Regions from separate parts of the Homo sapiens genome. Here all the other regions are linked to region 2. Evidence: promoter capture Hi-C in 16 types of primary human blood cells and fetal thymus (Javierre and others, 2016). All regions are on one chromosome and are shown on one strand. Each heading gives the region's core, a stretch centred on a gene start or on the middle of the fragment in contact. The rest is flanking DNA. Distances are from core to core; before and after follow the strand shown. Region 1 holds the start of TMT1B (thiol methyltransferase 1B). Region 2 has its middle 27 kb from the start of OR10A7. Region 3 holds the start of OR6C70 (olfactory receptor family 6 subfamily C member 70).

Region 1 (3,045 bases), core at 248-2,747, 490 kb after region 2:
ATATATATTATACCTCAAAGAAACTGTAAATAAATAAATAGGGTATTAGGTTACAAATCAGTGAATAAAATAGGAATCTATGCATCAATAATAATATGAACACATAAAAGACACATAAAACCAAATATTGCTGGTGGACGTGTAAATGGGTACAATCACTTTGGAAACCCATTTGCTATTATCTACTAAATCCAATACATTGTTAAGAAGGGGGGGAAGCAAGGTATACAAGAGTGTGTACAATATACTACTATTTGTAAAAGAAAAGGGAATATGTATATGTATATATGTACATGGATCTAAACACGTGGTGTGTGTGTTCCCTGCTCGTTCACAGGTCATCTCTGGAAGGATTCACAAGAAATTGGCAATATGGCATTTAGTGCCTCCAGAGAGGAGATCTGAGTGGTTGGGTCACAGGAGTAGAAGAGAGAATTTTCCCTGTAATCTCTTTAGTATCTTTTTAATTTTGTACTAAGTGAATGTACTGCCTCTTCCAAAAAAAGTTGTTTAATAATGTTTTGTAAAAAGAATTCTTCTCAGCCAGGCGCAGTGGCTCCCAACTGTAATCCCAGCACTTTGGGAAGTCGAGGTGGGTGGATCACCTGAGCCCAGGAGTTCAAGACCAACCTGGGCAACAGGGTGAAACCCTGTCTCTACAAATTACAGAAAAAAAAAAATTGCTGGGCATGGTGGTATGCACTTGTAGTCCCAGAAAATCAGGAGGCTGGTGTAAGAGGATCACTTGAGCCTAGGGACATTGAGGTTGCAGTGAGCCCAGACTGCTGCCACTGCACCCCAGCCTGGGCAGCAGAGACCCTGTCTCAAAAAAAGGAAAGAAGGAAAGAAGGGAGGAAGGGAGGGAGGGAGGGAAGGATCTCTAAAAAGTGGCTATTCTCTGACCTCACTTCCCCCTATTTGTCCAACTTACCCCATTCCCCACAGAACTAAACTTCTCACCCTTTCCAGGAGAGGGCATGCTGTCTCTGTCCTGTACACCTACTTTTTCCTCTGCCAAGAGCACCCTTCCCTTCCTATGGCCCCTCTGAAGTGCCTGACCTGAGGACGAAATGAGGCCAGGATATGTCCCATGAGTCAACTCTGTCCCCAGCATTCACCACTACCAACCCACCCCCAACGCCCTGCCAGCCCCCGACACTCCCCCGCCATGAGTCTGTCATCTGAAACATATCCCCTTACCCCTTCCCACTCCCTCTGAGATGACTCAGCAGCCCCTGCCCCCCTTCAGCTGGGCACAGTGCCCCAGAACTCAGGAACATGGGTACCACCTGTCCCTCCGCCCACATAAAAGTCATTGAAGAGCTTGTGGGGCTGTGGGACCTGCGCCCTCTGGAGGAATTCCATACACCCACTCAACTCTGGCAAATAGGAAATTGTCAAGTAGGAGACAAGGAGCAAAGTCCTATCACAGCGGGAGGGGACGCCAGCGCCTGCAGAGGCTGAGCAGGGAAAAAGCCAGTGCCCCAGCGGAAGCACAGCTCAGAGCTGGTCTGCCATGGACATCCTGGTCCCACTCCTGCAGCTGCTGGTGCTGCTTCTTACCCTGCCCCTGCACCTCATGGCTCTGCTGGGCTGCTGGCAGCCCCTGTGCAAAAGCTACTTCCCCTACCTGATGGCCGTGCTGACTCCCAAGAGCAACCGCAAGATGGAGAGCAAGAAACGGGAGCTCTTCAGCCAGATAAAGGGGCTTACAGGAGCCTCCGGGAAAGTGGCCCTACTGGAGCTGGGCTGCGGAACCGGAGCCAACTTTCAGTTCTACCCACCGGGCTGCAGGGTCACCTGCCTAGACCCAAATCCCCACTTTGAGAAGTTCCTGACAAAGAGCATGGCTGAGAACAGGCACCTCCAATATGAGCGGTTTGTGGTGGCTCCTGGAGAGGACATGAGACAGCTGGCTGATGGCTCCATGGATGTGGTGGTCTGCACTCTGGTGCTGTGCTCTGTGCAGAGCCCAAGGAAGGTCCTGCAGGAGGTCCGGAGAGTACTGAGACCGGTAAGCAGGGTGGGAAGGGGATGGGTGTGGGGCAGGCAAACGCAGCATCAGCCGCCCCAGGGTTCGGCCCCCAGAATGGGGCGTCTGAGGTAGTAAGTAGCACATTAGACACCCCATCCACCTCTACCTGCTGGTGAATAGGAGACATGACCAGTGCCATGACGGGGCACAATTGGGTGCTGTGGAAGCAACAGGAGGATCACCTACCACCATGGGACAGGGAGGGGAGTGGGGAGGACACCTAAGGAACTGAGGTTTAAATCGAGATCTGTGCTTGGGAGGCTGAAGCAGAAGGATGACTTGAGCCCAGGAGTTCAAGACCAGCCAAGGCAACATAGTGAGATGCCGTCTCTACAAAAAAAAAAAAAAAAAAAAATACAAAAGCTAGCCAGGCGTGGTGGCACATGCCTATAGTCCTAGCTACTCAGGAAGCTGAGGTGGGAGGATCACTTGAGCCCGAGTTCAAAGTTACAGTGAACTATGATCGCACCACTGCACTCCAGCCTGGGCCACAGAGTGAGACCCTGTATCAAAAAAAATAAATAAATAAATAAAAAGAGAGAGAGAGAGAGAGATCTGAGGGATTAAGCAGAGTGTGGACGGGGTGGGGAAAATAAAAGAGTGTTCTAGGTAAAGATAGTAGGGGAAGTAGAGTAGAATCCATCAGACTGTGGAGAGAACGTTCAGAATAGTTTCCAGGTTTCTAGCATGAGCAACTGAGGGGAGAGCTGATGAAAAGTGCCATTTGCTGAGATGGAAGAAAGCTGTTTTGGACTTACTAGGTTTGAGATCACCTAGGGAGAGTATAGTGAGGCGAGGAGCTTGAGGAACCCCAGCTTCAGTCAAGAGTTGGGCCTGAGGTTTCCCTGGGATGTTCACAGCGATGTCCAGGAAGCAGCTTGTGCATGCATCTGGGTTTTGTGAGAGAGGTTGTGCGTGTATCTCAGAATACAATAAGCCCAGCTGGGCGAGGTGGCTCACGCCTGTAATCCAGCACTTTGGGAGGCAAGGCAGGTGGATCTCTTGAGGCC
Region 2 (3,179 bases), core at 256-2,755:
TTACTCTGTTGAGTTTCTTTTACTGTGCAGAAGCTCTTTAGTTTATTTAGATCCCATTTGTCAATTTTTTCTTTTGTTGCAATTGCTTTTGTCATCTTTGTCATGAAATGTTTGCCCGTGCTTAAGTCCTGAATGGTATTGCCTAGGTTGTCTTCCAAGGTTTTTATAGTTTTGGGTTTTACATTTAAGTCTTTAATCCATCTTGAGTTAATTTTTATATATGGCTTAAGGAAGGGGTCCAGTTTCAATCTTCTGCATAGGGCTAGCCAGTTATCCCTGCACCATTTATTGAACAGGGAATCTTTTCCCCATTGCTTCTTTTTGTTCATTTTGTGAAAGATCAGATGATTGTAGGTGTAATATTGCTCTTTTAATTCCCCCTTTTAATGCTTTGTCTCTGTCAATTTTATAACCTTCAGATATCTATTAGTTATTAAAATTGAGAGAATTTAAAAATTTTCAATCTCATTTAATTCAAAACTCAGGCAATGCCAAATGTTTTTAGACCTTATATTCTCCTGTGAATTGATATGTCATGAATGAGGGAGAGAAAAGGGCACATTTCTTTACTGAGTGAGTCCCAGACAGTGATAATATGTAGTTAACAATGCAGTTCTGTCAATATGATTGCATGTTATTCCACAAAAGCTATTAGGTTTCCCAATGATAATATGCATCATTTTCTTGCAGCACTGTTAAGTCTACCTTACTTCAGTGTTGAGAACCTCTTCAGAAAGGGGCCAGCTATATTGCCGTTGCTCCCCTTGTAGTCTATACCCAAAACCTCTTCTCCTATTTCCTTCACAAGATTAAATTTTAGTGGTTATTTATGGAACCTGACATAATAATGGACACACTGTTTTTCTTAACTCATGTGTATCGTTTTCCCACTTCCAAGCTTCTTTCAAATAAATTAATTGCACTTGTATTAGAGTTTGACTCTAGAGTATCAACACTAAGATAAAATCAAAAAACTTTCAGGTTGACAAAATGTCTCTGAACATTTACATTTTTGTCAACTTCTCTAAAGTTGCCATAAGAAACCAACAGTTTTTTAAAGTTCTTTGTTTTAGTGTCTTATAGAAGACTTGCTTTTTATTATTCAAAGAGACAAAAACAATATATATTAGCTAGAATATATACACCGTGACAAAAGAAAATTATATTTAAATCAATACATTTAAACAGGGTTTACAATAGGTGTAATAAGATTGTATGTCTCAAAGGCAGACATTTCCCTAAGTCTTTACTCACATGAAAAACAAATAAACAAACCAACAAAAAACAGGTGGATAAGAGCAAAGGAAAACTCATGTTTCAGATAAAGAATTCAGGTCTCTCACTGGATTTACAAACTAAATATTTAAAGTTCTTTCATGGTGTACACCACTCATTAGTATTTATTAACAGTTGGTTATTTAATATGTATGACCTTAAGATGTACAGAGAGCACACTAATTAAAGGAGCATACTCCAATTAAGAACTTAAATTCTAATAGACTATATTTGATACTAAAATAGTATTACTTCCTGTTTATTTCATTTTTTGTTTTATACTCATAAAGGATATTTCATTTTCCTCAGGAAAATGGCATGAAACATACTGGACTTAATGCTATTACCACTGGAGAAGGAGAAAATGGTAGCTTGACACATGAGATGCCCTGTAAATACTGTTGAATGAATGAATGATTAACAATTGAATGAATCTACTGTGTAGTTTCCTTTTACTTACAGACATTGAAAAATGTGTGACAAATCCAAATGTTTTTTGGTAGCTAGGCTATAAATGCTTTAATAAAAGAATATGTTGGTAGAAGAATCATAAAATCGGGTAACCTCTCTGTACAGTAGCATAGGTTTCAGCTACTATGACTGGTTTAGGCCGTTTGTCTAAGAGAGTTCCTTTGGGTTATCCTTTGAAAGGCTTCCTTTACTTCCTTGTTCCTCAAGGTATAGATAACAGGATTCAAAGCAGGTGTGACCATTGTGTACATGAGTGCAGTTGCTTTGTCTGTTTCTGGAGTGTGTGCAGTCTTAGGTTGCAGATAAGTGAACAAGGCAGTGCCATAGAACAGAGAAACAACCAAGATATGAGAAGAACAAGTGGAGAAAGCTTTGTGTCTTCCAGCTGCTGAAGGGATTCTCAAGATGGTCACAGGGATGTGCATGTGGGAGCACAGAATGAGGAAACAAGGACTCACAATAAATAGCACGGAGAGAGAAAACATCACAATTTCAATTTGGGAGGTATCAATACAAGCCAGTTTCAGTACAGGCATTATGTCACAAAAAAGTGTTGAATCTTTCCTGTTCCACAGAAAGGCAAAGTGAAGATCAGGGTGATCTGGGCTGACTCCACCACCACTCCAGTGAACCAAGATGCTGCAGCCAATTTCAAACAAACACGAGGGCCCATGAAGAGAGTGTAATGCAGTGGGTAACAAATAGCTACAAAGCGATCGTAAGCCATAGCTGCTAGCAAGCAGCATTCTGTCAGTCCCAAGATGGCAAATATGTACATCTGGGTTGCACAGCCACCCACACTTATGGTTTTGGTCTCCACCAGCAGGTGCACCAGCATGAGGCACCACACTGGTGGTATAGCACATCTCCAGAAATGAGAGGTTCACCAGGAAGAAATACATTGGAGTGTGCAGGGCAGGGGTGATCCAGATCAGGGAGATGATGATGATATTTCCTCCTATAGTGCATAAGTGATGATTAAGAACACAATGAAGAGTACAAGCTGTAATTCTTCTATAGAAGAAAAAGCCACAAATGTGAATTTGGCACACAGGGACTGATTTCCATCTATGGTGGGCTCAGAGCTAAACATCTGTGCAGACAACAAAGAAGGCAGGTTAATGGGAATGCAGTCACCTAACACATCTCTCTACTGAACCACAGCAAAGGAGCTTTCCTAGAATCAGTAGTCTGAGATGAGAATCTAGACACCTGGATTTCTTCTGTTAAATCTTTCTAAACTACACAATTACATCGAATACATATTTCTTCCTGATTTTAAGTTATGGATTATATGCAATTTTCACAAACATTTGGAAAAAACAATGGTTTTTAAGTTGCATATTCTGAATCTTTTGTTTTTGTCTTATCACTAATTATATACAGAAGCTATTATGCAAGCAATATATGAAGACTTATAATTTTAAAGGAGT
Region 3 (3,381 bases), core at 323-2,822, 280 kb after region 2:
AAGACTTTTAAAGAACATGGCATTTAACTAAAACAAGGTACATTTCTTTAAATTACTTAGCATAAGATCTACTATTTAATAGCACAACAGGGAGACTACAGTCGATAATAACTAAATTGTATATTTTTAAATAACTTTAAAAATGTAATAGGATTGCTTGTAACTCAAAGGATAAGTACTTGAGGGGATGGGTACACCATTCTCCATGATGCATTTGTTTCACATTGAATGCCTGTATCAAAACATCTCATATACCCCATAAATTTATACACCTACTATGTACCCGCAAATTTTCTTAAATAATTTTTTAATTTTTATAAATTATTTAGATCAAACTCTTGAAGAACTTATATTCTATAATCACTGAAAACCACTCATTTATTTTATTCTAACATGCTTTTAGAGAAAATCAATTTTGCAATTGTTTTCTTTCTAATACAGAAAGGTTTGAATACTGAAAAAGAGAAAATTAAAGTCAGAATGGATAGAATGAAAAACGTTCTGATTGTTGGACAAGCTAAAGTCATACAAATAATTGAATATTGGGTATCAATTCTTAAACTAGAAGAGTCAAATTAGTGTTTTGTTCAAAGATCCTTTTATGTTTTCATGTTAATTATTTCAACAAGTTGTATTACTTGTCTGAAGCAGAAAATATCTTTCTAAATACAGCTTTGAAGGCTTGTTTAACTTGCTGATTCCTCAGAGTATAAATAAATGGGTTTAACAACGGGGCAACTGAAGTATTGAGCACAGTTACTCCTTTGCTTAAAGCAACTCTTTCATTCGCTGATGGCTTTATGTAGATAAACATACAACTACCATAAGTGATGGAGACAACAATCATGTGAGAAGAGCAGGTGGAAAAGGCTTTCTTCTTTTGCTGAGCTGAAGGGAATTTCAGAATTGTCTTGATGATGTAAGAGTAAGAAAGGATTACTAAAAACAATGTGACAATAAGTGTCATCACAGCTAATAAAAAGGCAATCAGTTCCAGTAAATGTGTGTCTGAGCAAGAAAGTTGTAGGATAAGAGAAATGTCACAAATGAAATGATCAATGATATTTGAAGCACAGAAATCCAAGTTAAGACCTAAAATCAGTGGAGTGAAAATGATCAGGAATCCAGTTACCCAAGAACTGAATACAAGCTGGTAGCAAACTTTGTTACTCATGATGGACATATAACGCAAAGGTTTGCAGATGGCAACATAGCGATCATAGGACAGAGCAGCTAGAAGGAAAAATTCTGTAACCCCCAAGAATATGTAAAAAAACAACTGAGATATGCAACCATTACAGGAAATGGTCTTTTCCCTGGTAACAATGGTGATTAGGAATCTGGGAATGCAAGCAGTTGTGAATGAAATTTCCAGAAAAGAGAAATTACGGAGGAAGAAATACATTGGAGTCTTGAGCTGGGAATCCAGCAGAATGAGGGCAATGATAGTGAAGTTCCCTATCATGCTCAACACACAATTTAGAAGTAGAAATAAGAAAATTACAATCTGTAACTGAGAATTATCCGTCAGTCCCAGAAGAATAAATTCTATCTGCCTTGTATGATTCTTCATTTCTCTGTTGTGATTTCAATCAAATTCTAGGAATAAAAAGGTGCAAGGGTTGAGCTAGGTCCAGGAAAAGATACAGGAAAGTTTCCACACTTACAAACATATACATTTAAGAGGTAGTACTCCATGGATGTTGAAGATATGATATAGAACTATGCAACAGAAATTGTAAACTAGGGGTTTAAAAGTACAACAAACATCATCTCACTTTGGAAAATTGATTTGCAAAGCCCTTAATAGTTGATTTTCAAGCTAGTTTTTTTCATGCTTCCACTTCAAGATTCCACTTAATTGTAACTAATTCCAGGTTTGTCAAGTTGTAAATAAATTAGGTAAAGATCTTGGTTCAGGATTCAAAAATAGTTCATTCATTTTAAAATTATTAATTTCATCTAAAGAAAATGATGCCAGTGTAATGAATTAAGACCTAAGTTAAGGGAAGGCACAGTGACTCATGCCTGTAATCCCAGCACTTGGGAGGCCAAACTGGGGATCGCCTGGGGCCAGGAGTTGAAGATCAGCGTGAGCAACATAGGGAGATGCCAGCTTGGGTGACAGAGAGAGACCCTGTCTTTTTTGTTAAGAATTAAAAGACCTACAGTCAAATTTTGAAACTTTACATTATATTATATTAAAGTGACATTTGTTTAAAGCCCTGCTATACAGCCTTTTTCAACTTCTCTATGAACTACATATGAAGATACGGAAAAATGCCCCTAAAAAGTATGAGTTGATACCACAACAAAATAAATACTAGTTGAATCTAGGAAACTCAAAACTTAATATTATGCATATATTGCCACATTTACAAAAAAAAAGTCTATTTAGGACTTAAAAATTTTGTCTTGTGTAATCAAGACCATAGGAGTAAGAAAGAAAACAGATAAAACATTGCATCTCTTCCAAGTCGCTACAGTTACAGGTACCTACAGTCTAAACCTACTTTCTAGATGTAATACTGTGAGTGAAAAATCAGTGCTTTCTTGCCACACTATCTGAGTCCCCAACAATTATTCATGCAGGTAACCAACGACTATTAATTTAGGGAAATAATGGGGTAGGAAGGGTGTAATCATTTGAATGGGACAAAAGGATTCTGATGGTATTTTAAGTTTGTTATTGTAGGTTTCCCAGAGTATCAGGTTGCCAATGAAAAAAGTGAAGTGAGTAATAGTACAGAAGTAAAGCAAAGGTGACAGACTGCTAGGAATTAGAAAGTGGACTTAAAATCCAGCTAAGGATCTGAGAAATAACTTATCAATGGCTACTGAGAAAAAAGGCAATCCACTCTCAGGGTTAAAGTTTGGGAAGCTTCTTTATTGTTTAATAATTAATTTTTAAATGTTAAGCTGAGTATCACAAACAAACGAAAAAAATAAGACATAAGAAAGTGTAAAATGGCTAAGTTAACAGTTTAAAGTCAAAGATCTTGAAATTTTTAGAAAAGTTTAATAAAATTTGGAATTTTCTCCATTATTATTAGTTATATGGTCTTGGGAAAACTAACTTTCTTACTTTAGTTTTTTCATCTACAAAAAAAAGGTAAAATAATTCTGATCTCAGTTAGAAGGATTAATTGAGATGTATACACAACACATGTCTAATAACTTTAATAACCAGTGAAGAGATTAATAAAAATTAAGGCCGGGCACAGTGGCTCACGACTGTAATCCCAGCACTTTGAGAGGCCGAGGCAGGCAGATCACGAGGTCAGGAGTTCGAGACCAGCCCGGCCGATATGGCTAAACCCCGTCTCTACTAAAAATACAAAAATTAGCCGGGCATGGTGGTGGGTGCCTGTAATCCCAGCT

Evidence for each region. Contacts are between HindIII fragments. The CHiCAGO score rates a contact against its expected background, and 5 or more counts as called.
Region 1: a contact is called between the fragment with the promoter of TMT1B here and a fragment that was not itself captured in region 2, in 4 of 17 cell types (monocytes, neutrophils, erythroblasts and 1 more). The highest score is 7.3, in monocytes.
Region 3: the fragment with the promoter of OR6C70 here is called in contact with a fragment that was not itself captured in region 2 in 2 of 17 cell types (M1 macrophages and M2 macrophages); the score reaches 5.2 in M1 macrophages.

Annotation. Positions count from the first base shown.
Region 1 is chr12:55,680,239-55,683,283 of GRCh38, forward strand. TMT1B (thiol methyltransferase 1B) reads left to right here and starts at 1,498. Exons shown (of 2, transcript NM_152637.3): 1 at 1,498-2,014. The coding sequence starts at 1,517. RefSeq lists an enhancer at 1,157-1,832. The HindIII fragment of the contact is 9,637 bases long and covers 1-3,045 here.
Region 2 is chr12:55,191,978-55,195,156 of GRCh38, forward strand. It overlaps the pseudogene OR10U1P. Among named protein-coding and RNA genes, the nearest start is that of OR10A7, 27 kb to the right of the region's middle. The HindIII fragment of the contact is 1,218 bases long and covers 897-2,114 here.
Region 3 is chr12:55,468,566-55,471,946 of GRCh38, forward strand. It overlaps OR6C70 (olfactory receptor family 6 subfamily C member 70), which reads right to left and starts at 1,573. Exons shown (of 1, transcript NM_001005499.1): 1 at 635-1,573. The coding sequence starts at 1,573. The coding sequence ends at 635. The HindIII fragment of the contact is 2,936 bases long and covers 1-2,879 here.